2 separate regions of the Homo sapiens genome follow, and region 2 is linked to region 1. Evidence: promoter capture Hi-C in human tissues and cell types (Jung and others, 2019). All regions are on one chromosome and are shown on one strand. Each heading gives the region's core, a stretch centred on a gene start or on the middle of the fragment in contact. The rest is flanking DNA. Distances are from core to core; before and after follow the strand shown. Region 1 has its middle 23 kb from the start of CD70. Region 2 holds the start of KHSRP (KH-type splicing regulatory protein).

The links. Contacts are between HindIII fragments. The study calls those that stand out against the background at their distance.
Region 2: a contact is called between the fragment with the promoter of KHSRP here and a fragment that was not itself captured in region 1, in 1 of the 25 tissues and cell types used here (pancreas).

The regions. Positions count from the first base shown.
Region 1 is chr19:6,610,701-6,616,638 of GRCh38, forward strand. No RefSeq gene overlaps it. Among named protein-coding and RNA genes, the nearest start is that of CD70, 23 kb to the left of the region's middle. RefSeq lists an enhancer at 5,278-5,497. The HindIII fragment of the contact is 5,013 bases long and covers 1,570-5,938 here.
Region 2 is chr19:6,420,529-6,426,669 of GRCh38, forward strand. KHSRP (KH-type splicing regulatory protein) reads right to left here and starts at 4,283. Exons shown (of 19, transcript NM_001366299.1): 1 at 3,925-4,283; 2 at 1,812-1,908; 3 at 1,122-1,160; 4 at 750-789. The coding sequence starts at 4,173. It overlaps SLC25A41 (solute carrier family 25 member 41), which reads right to left. Exons shown (of 7, transcript NM_173637.4): 7 at 5,509-6,033. The coding sequence ends at 5,861. RefSeq lists an enhancer at 4,591-4,710. The HindIII fragment of the contact is 26,210 bases long and covers 1-6,141 here.

The DNA of each region.
Region 1 (5,938 bases), core at 2,826-5,325:
CTTCTTGGATTTGCTAACTTTATGGTTGCCTTATCTTCAAGTTTGTTGATCTTTTTTCTACCTACTCAAATCTGTTCTTGAATTCGTCTAATGAATTATCACCTCCATTATTGTAACTTTCAGCTCCAGAATTCCTGTTTGTGAATTTTTAATAATTTATTTCTTTCTATTGACATTCTCACTTCTTTCATATATCATTCTCATGATCTGCTTTAGTTCTTTGTCCATATTTTCCTTCATCTCACTGAACACATTGGAGACAGTTGATTTAATGTCTTTGACTAATAGTTTCAATGTGTGGGCTTCCCTAGTAACAGTATATGTTAAATCATGGTTTATTGTAAATGAGTTATACTTTCCTATGTCTTTATGCTTTGTAATTACAACTGGACATCCTGAGTATTATGATTCATAAGTCTGGAACTCCGATGCTCCAAGTCTTCATGGATTGCTGATTTCTGCTTACTGAAGGCTGAAACTATTCATTTCTGACTTTTCCCGACTGTTTTTTGGCAACTGTGTATCCTTTGGGTGTGATCACTGAAGTGTCTTTTCCATTTTGTGGTCAGTTAGTAACATGACAAAGATTTTACAAGGCATCGAACCTCTAAGTCTGAGGGATACGAAGGGACTCAAGAGAGCCAAAACAAGCATCTTATTGGCTTCTCAGGAATTGCCAGACCTAGTAGAGTGCAAATTCCCCAAATTTTGGAGGCCAAGGTCTCAACTGCCTGCTCTGGCACTGGTCACCTGTTTGAGGAAAATGGACTGTCTCCAAATTGCCCCACTCGGACGGAGGAATGGGGAGTGGGGGCTGGTTTGTGAAGGCTGTTCTCTTTCTAAAGTCTCAGTCTCTCTTTTCATCAAGCACTCCTCTCATTATTATAAGTGCTGCAACAGGATGACTAGTTCTGAAATCATTGATTCTGTGTCTCCTGCCCCTCAGTTCACTGTTTATTTCACTGGAGGGAGGGGCTCCCAGAGCTTTCTACTCCGTCTTTTTGCTTGATCTCACTGTTTGCTGACTTTCTGAGATATGCCCAAACTCATATGGCTATTGGAAATTTCCACATTAAAAGTACTTCACCACATTGGGCAACATGGTGAAATCCTGTCTCTACAAAAAAGAAAAATACAAAAATTCCTTGGGTGAGGTGGCACACTCCCGTAGTCCCAGCTACTTGAGAGGCTGAGGTGGGAGAATCGCTTGAGACCGGGAGGCAGAGGTTGCAGTGAGCCGAGATCGCACTACTGCACTCCAGCCTGGGTGACAGAGTGAGGCTCTGTCTCAAAAAAAAAAAAAAAAAAAAAGGTACTTGACATGATAGTTTCCAATAAAAACATTTTAACCTAATTCCTTCATTTCACTCTTTAGCAATCAATATGTGAAAATTATATTGAACTGGTAAAAATGCAGGTTACAAAGATAAGATAAATATGAAATGCTATGATACACTTCTGACCACTGGAAGACATAAGAGAGAGTTGCAATGATTATATTTAATATTTTGGTTAGTAAACAGAGAGAACGCATCTACCCAGGGATTCAGTAGGGGTATGTGAAGATTTAATAAGGTAAGTAATCCTTAGTTTTTGAGAAACCAGAGATAGAAAATATGTTGGTGATTTTTTTTTTTTTTTGAGATGGAGTCTGGCTCTTTTCGCCCAAGCTGGACTGCAGTGGTGTGCTCTCAGCTCACTGTAACCTCTGCCTCCCGGGTTCATGCCATTCTCCTGCCTCAGCCTCCTGAGTAGCTGGGATTATGGGTGTGTACCACCACACCTGGCTAATTTTTTTTCTTTTTTGAGACGGAGTCTTGCTCTCTTGCCCAGGCTGGAGTGCAGTGGCGTGATCTCGGCTCACTGCAAGCTCCGTCTCCCAGGTTCATGCCATTCTCCTGCCTCAGCTTCCCGAGTAGCTGGGACTACAGGTGTCTGCCACCACGCCCGGCTAATTTTTTGTATTTTTAGTAGAGACGGGGTTTCACCGTGTTAGCCAGGATGGTCTCGATCTCCTGACCTCGTGATCCGCCCGCCTTGGCCTCCCAAAGTGCTGGGATTACAGGTGTGAGCCACCGCGCCCGGTCAATTTTTTTTTTTTAACTTTAAGTTCCGGGATACATGTGCAGAACATGCAGGTTTGTTACATAAGTATATGTGTGCCATGGCGGTTTGCTGCACCTGCTGACCCGTCCTCTAAGTTGCCTCCTCTCACTTCTCACCCCCCAACAGGCCCGATGTGTGACGTTCCCCTCCCTGTGTCCATGTGTTCTCATTGTTCAGCTCCCACTTATGAGTGAGAACATGCGGTGTTTGGTTTTCTGTTCCTGTGTTAGTTTGCTGAGGGTGATGGTTTCCAGCTTCATCCATGTCCCTGCAAAGGACACGATCTCTTTCCTTTTTATGACTGCGTAGTATTCCATGGTGTATAGGTACCACATTTTCTTTATCCAGTCTATCATCGATGGACATTTGGGTTGGTGCCATGACTTTGCTATTGTAAATAGTGCTGCAATAAACATATGGTGCGTGTGTCTTTATAGTAGAATAATTTATGTTCTCTTTTTTTTTTTTTTTTTGAGATGAAGTCTCAGTTTGTCACCCAGGCTGGAGTGCAGTGGCATAATCTTGGCCCACTGCAACCTCCAACTCCCGGGTTCAAGCAATTCTCCTGCCTCATCCTTCCGGGTAGCTGGGATTGCAGGTGCCCACCACCATGCCTGGCTAATTTTTGTATTTTTAGTAGAGATGATATTTCGCCACGTTGGACCAGGCTGGTCTCGAACTCCTGGCCTCAGGTGATCTGCTCACCTTGGCCTCTCAAAATGCTGGGATTACAGGCGTGAGCCGCCACACCCGGCCAGGATTGTTATTACTACTTTTAACCCATTTCCCATTTGCCCCGAGAATACTCTTGTCTCTAATCCCAATGTAACATCATATACATTTCTGCTACATTAGGATTAGAGACAAATTCTGTTCAGAAATAACTCCAAGAACAGTTTTTATATTTTATTTGCACATTGAAACTCAACCAGATTTGCTTCAGCCTCAACAAGTGTGTTTATGTAAAGTTAAATGAACTCTGGCAGTGAGCTGCACGTTTTTTAAAATTAGGAAATGAGTTAGCTAATATTGAACTTGAGGTTTTAGTCAATGCAATGAGACAAAAAGATTGAATAGGAAGAAATGAGTCATTATTTAGAGATTACTTCATTATGTATGTAGAAAATTCTAGGCCAGTCATTGTGGCTCACGCCTGTAACCCCAGCACTTTAGGAGGCCGAGGTGGGTGGATCATGAGGCCAGGAGATCGAGACTATCCTGGCTAACACGGTGAAACCCTGTCTCTACTAAAAATACAAAGAACTAGCCGCCTGTAGTCTCAGCTACTTGGGAGGCTGAGGCAGGAGAATGGCGTGAACCCAGGAGGTGGAGCTTACAGTGAGCCGAGATCACACCACTGCACTCCAGCCTGGGTGACAGAGTGAGACTCTGTCTCAAAAAAAAAAAAAAAAGAAAATTCTAAATAATCTACACATAGTTTTATTTTTACTTTTGAGATGGACTCACTGTGTCGCCCAGGCTGGAGTGCAGTGGTGCAATCTCGGCTCACTGCAACCTCTGCCTCCCAGGTTCAAGCAATTCTCCTCCCTCAACCTCCCAAGTAGCTGGGACAACAGGTGCTCACCACCACACCCAGCTAATTTTTTCTGTAGTTTTAGTAGAGATGTGGTTTTATCGTGTAGGCCAGGGTGGTCTCAAACTTCTGGTCTCAGGTGATCCACCCATCTCAGCCTTCCAAAGTACTTGGATTACAGGTGTGGGCCACCACGCCCAACCTACACATAGTTTTTTTTTTTTTTTTTTTTTTTTGAGACAGAGTTTTGCTCTGTTGCCCAGGCTGGAGTACAGTGGTATATCTTGGCTCACCACGACCTTCTCTTCCCGGGTTCAAGCAATTCTGTTGCCTCAGCCTCCTGAGTAGCTGGGATTACAGGCATGCACTACCACACCCGGCTAATTTTTGTATTCTTAGTAGAGATGAGGTTTCACCATGTTGCCCAGGCTGGTCTCAAACTCCTGACCTCAGGGGATCCGCCCACCTCAGCCTCCCAAAGTGCTGGGATTACAGGCATAAGCCACTGCGCCCGGCCTACACATAGTTTTAATATATTGATTTAGCAACAACACCGGAGGCAAAGCCAAAGTACAAAAATAAATCATATTTTTATATACCACTGTCAACTAGAAAAGACATGTAAAACTATGTCATTTACAAACTCAACAAAAATATATCAAATACCTGGGACTACATCTAATGGAAGCACTATATAAATTCTACACCAAAAACCATAAAATGTTACTGAGAAAATTAAAGAAAGCTTAAATAAATAGAAGGATATACCATGGCCAAGAGGTTGGAACATTTAATACCATGAAGACACCAATTCTACACCAATATCTATTGATCTATAGATTCAATGCAATCCCAGTCAATACCTCAGCAGGAAGTATACGTGTGTGTGTGTGTATGTGTGTGCGCGTGAGAGAGAGAGAGGAGAGAGAGAGAGAGAGACTGATTCTAATAAAAACACAGGGAAATGCAAAGAACTAAGAAAGACAAGATGATCTGTAAAAAGAACAGAATGGAGAGACTCTACTATATATTGAGTCTTATTAAAAGGCTACAGCAAGTTAAACAGTGTGGTATTAGTGCCATCAGGGACTACAATCCAGTGGGATTATAAAAATAATTGCTTGGCCGGGTGCAGTGGCTCATGCCTGTAATCCCAGCACTTTGGGAGGCTGAGGCGGGCGGATCACGAGGTCAGGAGATCGAGACCATCCTGGCTAACACGGTGAAACCCCGTCTCTACTAAAAATACAAAAAATTAGCCGGGCATGGTGGCGGGCGCCTGTAGTCCCAGCTACTTGGGAGGCTGAGGCAGGAGAATGGCATGAACCTGGGAGACGGAGCTTGCAGTGAGCCGAGATCATGCCACTGCACTCCAGCCTGGGCGACAGAGCAAGACTCCTTCTCAAAAAAAAAAAAAAAAAAAAAAAAAAAAATTAGCTGGGCGTGGTGGTGTGCACCTGTAATCCCAGCTACTCAGGAGGCTGAGGCAGGAGAATCACTTCAACCTGGGAGGCAGAGGTTACAGTGAGCTGAGATCGTGCCACTGTACTCCAGCCTGGGCAACAGAGCGAGACTCTGTCACAAAAAAAAAAAAATTCTGTAAGGCAAAAAGAAAAAGACAACCTACTTTTAAAAGATATAAAAGATGTGAAGCAACACTTCACATAAAATAATATACAAGTGGACAATACTAGAGAGCATATTTAGCTACATTACTCCAAAAAAAAGTAAAACCACGTGGAATCCCCCTTATTCAACAGTGGAAATTGGCAAGACTGGGCATGACTCTGAGAGTGAGTCAACAATGTGGCAGGATATGTTTCGAACCTTTATCCTTTCACAGAAACATTCATTTCAATAATCTTCTGTGCAGAAAAATACTTTCACAAGAGTCAAAGAATCAGCTGAGAGACCACAGAACTTGAATGGAAAATAACGGTAAGAAAAGATAGGCCGAGCATGGTGGCTCACGCCTGTAATTCCAGCACTTTTGGAGGCCGAGGTGGGTGGATCACCTGAGGTCAGGAGTTCCAACCAGCCTGATGAACATGGAGAAACCCCATCTCTACTAAAAATACAAAAAAAAAATTAGCCAGACGTGGTGGACGCACCTGTAATCCCAGGTACTCAGGAGGCTGGGGCAGAAGAATGTCTTGAACCGGGAGGCAGAGGTTGCGGTGAGCCGAGATCGCGCCATTGCACTCCAACCTGGGCGACAGAGCGAGACTCCATCTCAAAAAAAAAAAAAAAAAAAAAAAGGCAAAAAGAAAGAAAAACAAGAAAAAGAAAAGAAAAGAT
Region 2 (6,141 bases), core at 3,033-5,532, 190 kb before region 1:
TCTGGAAGGTCTACTTGAAGCCAAGGCCACCATAGGTCTAAGCAGAGTCTGACCACACAGGCCACAAAACTGCCAAGGCCTCAGTTTCCCCATCTGTGCCCCGAGAGGCTTGCTCTGGGCATTGTGGGCCTTGGCCTGGTGCCGTCCCATTGATTCAGGGCGAGAGGGAGCACTGAGTAGCAAGCTGACAGTCACTCTATGTCTCTCAGTTCTAAAAAGCTGGCTGTATGTCCTTTTCATCTTATTTTCCTAGTATTTTATGAAACTACTGGCCCATTAAAAACAAACAAACAAAAAATGACCCCTGACAACTGCCCTGTGTCAGGTTCACCTCAGTCCATCTGGTGGGGCAAAGAGGTGGCAAAGAGCCCTGAGCTCCACAGCACTGAGTGGGATGGGCACTTGCAGATGTGTGAGGGAGGGAAGCAAGGCCCTCCTAGCCTCTTCCAGGAAGACGACATTTGTGCTGCTCAGAGTCCCCACCCCAGCGGAGGAAGCCATAGGGTGCGGAGACCACCCTATCACTACAGTGACTGCCACGACGCTCCCCTCCCACAGCCCTTCAGACAAGGGGTACGAGGAACGGACACAGCTCCTCTGCCTCATTCCCGTCTGAGCACTCTGGTCAACTGGCACTGGGGGATAAAACCTGAGAGATGTGCCCCCAGTCAGAGCCCTCCCAAGTCAGCAGAAAGGCCAGTCTGCTGGCCAACAGACAAGAAAGCAGTGTGGGCCCCACCATGGCTTACCTTGGGGGAGGATGGATGGGTCCAAGTTGAGAACTGATTGCTGTAGAGAGAAAACCCAAAGCAAAGACTGGCTTAGCTCCTCCTCGGGCACTTGGCACTGCCTGCCCCGGGTCAGTGGGAGCTGAGCCCGGCACCACGGTCCCCAGCCTGCTCCAGTGCCTCATGGATGCTGTGGATTCCTCCCCATAAAAGCACAGAGCTCATCTCCCTCAATTTCAGGGTTCCTGGGATCCCTCAAACGTATGGGCCCCAGAATGAAGCACCAGGGGCCTCTGTAAAGAGCTGCCACCTCCTCAGTGCTTCCAGCTCCTGACTCCTGAAAACCTCAACCCTCTGAAGCCACATATCTGCCACCAGACCCCCTGGACTTACAGTCTCCCTGGGAAGCCAGCTTCTTGCTCTCCGGTTGATCTGGGAAAGAGAGAGGATGGCAGATGCAGCACCCACCCACCCACGGCCGCCTCGAACCTGATGCTGGTGCCACATGTCCAAGGTAAACAGTGCCCCTCGGCCCCCACCCTTAACAGGAGCTGAGACAGGAGCCCAGGAGAGACTGGCCCCTGAGGGAGGCCAGACCCCGCCAATTCCGCCACCAACGCTCAGAGTAAAAAAGCCTTCAGAACACGCAACCACCACCAGGCACCTGAGTCCTCCCGGTTTAGGACAGGACCTGCCTCTAGCAGGGAGGGTGTCGTGGATAACAGTGGAGTTGGTCAGGGTTGATCATCCGCTACTTGGGGTCACACTACGCACCCCAGAGCTGGGCCAACTTCACATCAAGCCTCAGTAACTGCTCCAGGTTGCCTCAGCCTCCCAGAAAGGGAGGAATCATCTTGGGAACTTACAACTTCGACCCAGTCACAATCAATCTGCCCTCCTCTCTGCCACCTGATACCTCAGGATGGCAGACGGAACAAGAAGAATTAACAAGGCCGGGATTGCTGAGGTTTTAAAAGACCAAACAACAGTGACACCCACCCCCTCTGAACCACACTCAAACAAAAGCACCTCTTTAGGCCCCCAGCCCTTCCTCCTAAGCTAAAGGCAGCAGCAGGGAGTTACCTCCATCTTCCAACTGTCTCTTTTGGCCCCCAAAACCAAAATCAGGAGTGCTGTTATTCACTGTCGTGGCAGCATCGCCTCCAATTTTGGCTGCAATCTAGAATAAAGTAGTAAGCACAGAAGAATTACCACCAAAAACAACCCTCCATGGCACCCAGGTCAACTTCTCAGAACATCTCCTGGACACGAAAGCCCATCAGGTCTTGGTGTCTGGCCCTCCAACTTAGGGAAGAGTCAGTTGGTTAAGACATCCTAGGAGTTTTGAACCTAGGCCTCAAGGTTCTCACCAGTTAACTGGGAATATCAAAATTCCCCTCTTCCCTTCTCCTGGGATTTGTGTCTTAATTGTGGCCAGCCCATAATCCACACTGACTTCGTTCTAGGGGTGACAAGGAACAGAGGCTCAGGTGTCAGGGAGGGTTCCCAGGTCATCTCCAAGAGCTTTCAGACACTTCCTCCTGCCAGTGGCCCCAGCTCAGAAAACCAGAAAGTGTGTTTTTTTTTAGCCCCGTTTTCCTGGGATGCTGAAGAGTTCAATTTTCCCCTATCTCCCCCACTCTCAAAATCCTTTTATCAATTTATTGAATAAATTTGAGCAAAGCGATCACTTCAAGGGATATGAAATCCTCATTTGACCAAAACAGAAGACTCTCTGGATGGCTGGGCACTGTGACTTATGCCTGTAATCCCAGCATTTTGGGAGGCCGAGGCGGGCAGATCACTTGAACTCAGGAGTTCGAGACAGACTGGCTGACATGGTCAAACTCCATCTCTACTAAAAATACAAAAATTAGCTGGGTGTGGTGGTGCACACTTATAATCCCAGCTACTCGGGAGGCTGAGGCAGGAGGAGCACTTCAACTGGAGAGGTGGAGGCTGTGGTGTGCTGAGATCGTGCCACTGCACCCCTGCCTGGGTGATATTGAGACTGTTTCCAAAAAACAAACAAACAAACAAAAAACCAAGACTCTATGGGACACAAGTTACATCTCAGACACGTGAAGAGCAACTTTAAAGAAACCTCAACCCAGCAAACTTAGGATCAGAGTCTGGGGTTTAGAAACCCAAACCATGTTAAGAATCTCCCTTTCCACCAGTCTCCATTTTTCTACGCTGCCCTAGAGCCAAAACTCATGGGATGCCCACAGGGGGCCTGTCCCCACCAACTGACAGCACCAGCTTCCTCCCTTCAAGCTGTCCCAGAATCAGACGGTTCCATGGGCAATAAGACCAAATGCACGCTAGAACCCACCCAACTCCAAGGGTGAGAGAGACGACAGAGGGCCAGAACACAGGCGTTCACTTAACGGGACCTCCCACCTTGGGAGGAGCCAGTCTCTAGCCCCGGAGGCATTGGGACAGCCCAGGAGCCGGTCGGCGGCAAAGTCCTCCCATTCTACCGACCCCCACCCCTCCAGGCCATGGGGAGGCTGCAAATGGAGCTGGAGAGGTCAGTCCTAGCAGCATGTGACACTTCCTTGTCATTACGCCTCAATACACGGGGGTGGGAGACCCTCCCTTCTTTCCCCCAAAGAGACAGACCACGCTTTCAAGCCACCAAAGCATCCAAGAGCCAGTCCCCATGCTCGTCTTCCCCATTTCGCCCAAGTGCTCAGCCCTAGACAGGTCCCCATCCACTTTCCCGACTGAAGAGGAAGGACTGTCCCTCCCACCCCCACAATGTCCCTTTCTCCTAGAGAGGGGACAGAAATGGGACTGGGTTGGGGGCAAACACTGCCCTTTGCCCTGATATGGAGGGGAGAGTAAAGGCCCTCCGCCCGGGAAGGTGGACCCCTGCCTCCAGGCATGTCCTAAGGCCGGGGGGCTAAGGGGGGGGTCCCAAAAGTGCGTCTCCGAGCTCCGGGGCGCCTGCACACCCAGGCGCCGCTCCTGGTGACCCCCAGTGCGCCCCTACTCCCTGCAGGGGGGTCACCCGTTGGGATCCCACTCGAGGCGCAGCGGGAGGGCCAGGCCCCCGCCTACCGCCCACGTGACCCCGCGACGGCCCCGGCCCCCCTCCGCGACCCTGCGCGCGCGCGCGCACGTGACCCCCGCCCCCTCCCCCGCCTGCGCGCGCGCGCGAGCGCGCCCCTCAGGCCCTCGGCCTCCTCACCTGGCGGGCCCGCTGCACGGCGTCGGCGAAAGCGTCCTTGCGGATTCCCGGGCCGCCTCCGCCGGGTGGCTGAGAGGGGCCCCCGGCCGACCCCCCGCCCGGGCCGCCGCCGCCGGGACCGCCGCCGCCCCGGTCCCCCGCGCCTGGCGGGCCCGGCGGAGGGCCTCCCCCGGCGCCTCCGGCTCCCCCGCCCCCGCCGGCGGGCGGCGGCGGCCCGGGCGGGGGTCCTCCCGTGCTGTAGTCCGACATGGCGCGGCGGGGCCGGGCCTGGCGCGGAGGCTGAAGCTGAGGAGGCGGCGGCGGCGGCGGCGGCTCAACGCGGGAACAAGGCCTCGCTCCACACGGCCGCGGAGCACTCTGGGAACCCAGCCGCTGGGAGGACGACGAGGGGGGAGAGAGTCGCCCCTCCCGCCGCCGACGTGACGGACGACTCCGGCGGGCCAATGGGAGGCAGCCGCCGCACCCCGGACACCAATCGCGAGCTCTGTAGGAGGTGGCCAATCGGAGTGCAATGAGGGGCAGTGGGCGGGAGGCTCAGAGTGACTGACAGCTCTCAGAGGCAATAGCTGCGAGCTGCCCGTGCTGGGCGGGCAAATGAAGGAGATCTGAGAAGGCAGGAGGCCCAATGAAACGCGAGTGCCAGATTCGCGGGGCGGCTTCAGAATTAGATTGACGGTTCTGAAGAGTCACGTGGACTGTAAGGCCGGGCCTAGTGGAAGACTCCTATGGACCGGCTGGGTGGGCGTTAGGTTTGATAGTCGTGGACACAAGCCAATGAATGCACGTGAGAGGTGGTGCTTGTAAAGATGGGCAGCCAATTAATCCAATTCCTGACGAGTTCTGGGTGATGAGGTTGGCTTTGGACTTTAATTGCTTCCCTTGTTAACCAGAATCCTTTTCTATCCCTGACTTCTAAGCCAATGGCTGAGCGACATGGGTGGGTGTTCGGTGACTGACACTGGTCTGGACAAATGGGAATGAAGGAAATCAAAGCGCCCACTTTTGGTGGGAGCCAGTGGAAGCGCCGCTGCATTGGGGCGGAGTCGGCCACCAGACAGCGAGGGGATTAGCGGGAACTGTAGTGAATGGCAGCCGACGTGGGCGGTGGCAATCGGCTGCCCGAACTCAGGCCTGATGTCTGGGTTAGCTCACCGGCAGCCTGGTTGGGTAGGCCCGGCACGTGGCCCGCTTGAAGCCTTAGAGATCGAGCGCTTCCGGAGGTGGGGAGGCCGGAAAGCAGGAAACTCGGGATCCCCCGGGCCTTCTTCTCTCTCGACCCCCCATCTAGAGCGTCCAGTTCTCTTGCAGGACTCAAGGAACCAGCCCCACTCACGAGTCCAGAACCGTTCCAACAACCGGGATCGAGGGATCACAGCCTCGATCACACCCCTCACTTCACACCCCTCACTCCCTTCGCCTAAGGCCCTGGGATCCAAGCCTCAAGCTCCTATCCTAGGTCCTCACTTCCTCTCCTGGACACAAATTCCCATTCAGGACCCAGAGGCCCAAGGTCCCCAGCTCCCCTACTGGGTCCAGGGATCTCATGCACCCAGTTCCACTCCTAGGCCCAAGTATCCAGACACGTTCAGCAAAAACCATCTCTTTATTCCTTGTTGTGTGACATGTTCACCATTTCGCCCTGGAGCCAGGACGACCCACAAGGGGCCAGACTGGAGTCCACGTTTCTTGTCTCAGGCTGCACCCTGGGGAGGGAGTCCCAGGAGTTTTCTGACCCAGCACTGCCCCCCTCCACCCACCACCAACCCCAGCTTCAGGAATCTTCTGACCCAGAGCCCCACCCCCACCCCCAGCCTGCTTTTGCCACCAAAAACTGCCCCAGGGCCTGAACCTTGAGGCCTCGAGGGCTCTTTGGGGCCAGGGGTCATCAGGTCCTCCTGTCCCATTTCTGCCTAGGCTGTGTCGTCCAGCTCACAGCCTATATGCCCAGGGTTTTCTTCATGGCTTCGTACACCACATAGCTGATGCCACCTGCTGGTAAGACCTTCAGTAGCGTGGGGGTCATGCCTCGGTACAGCCCTAGCCAGCCCTGCTGGGCCAGGATCCGCTGGAGGACTCCGCGCATGGTGGGATTTGAGCCCTCCACGGTATCTGCAGGGACACAGGCAAGATCAGGACTAGGCCAGAGATGACCGGGCCTCCTAGGAGTCTGGAATGTTGCGGACAGGTGCTGAAGCCACGGGTAGGGGCCCCAGGGGT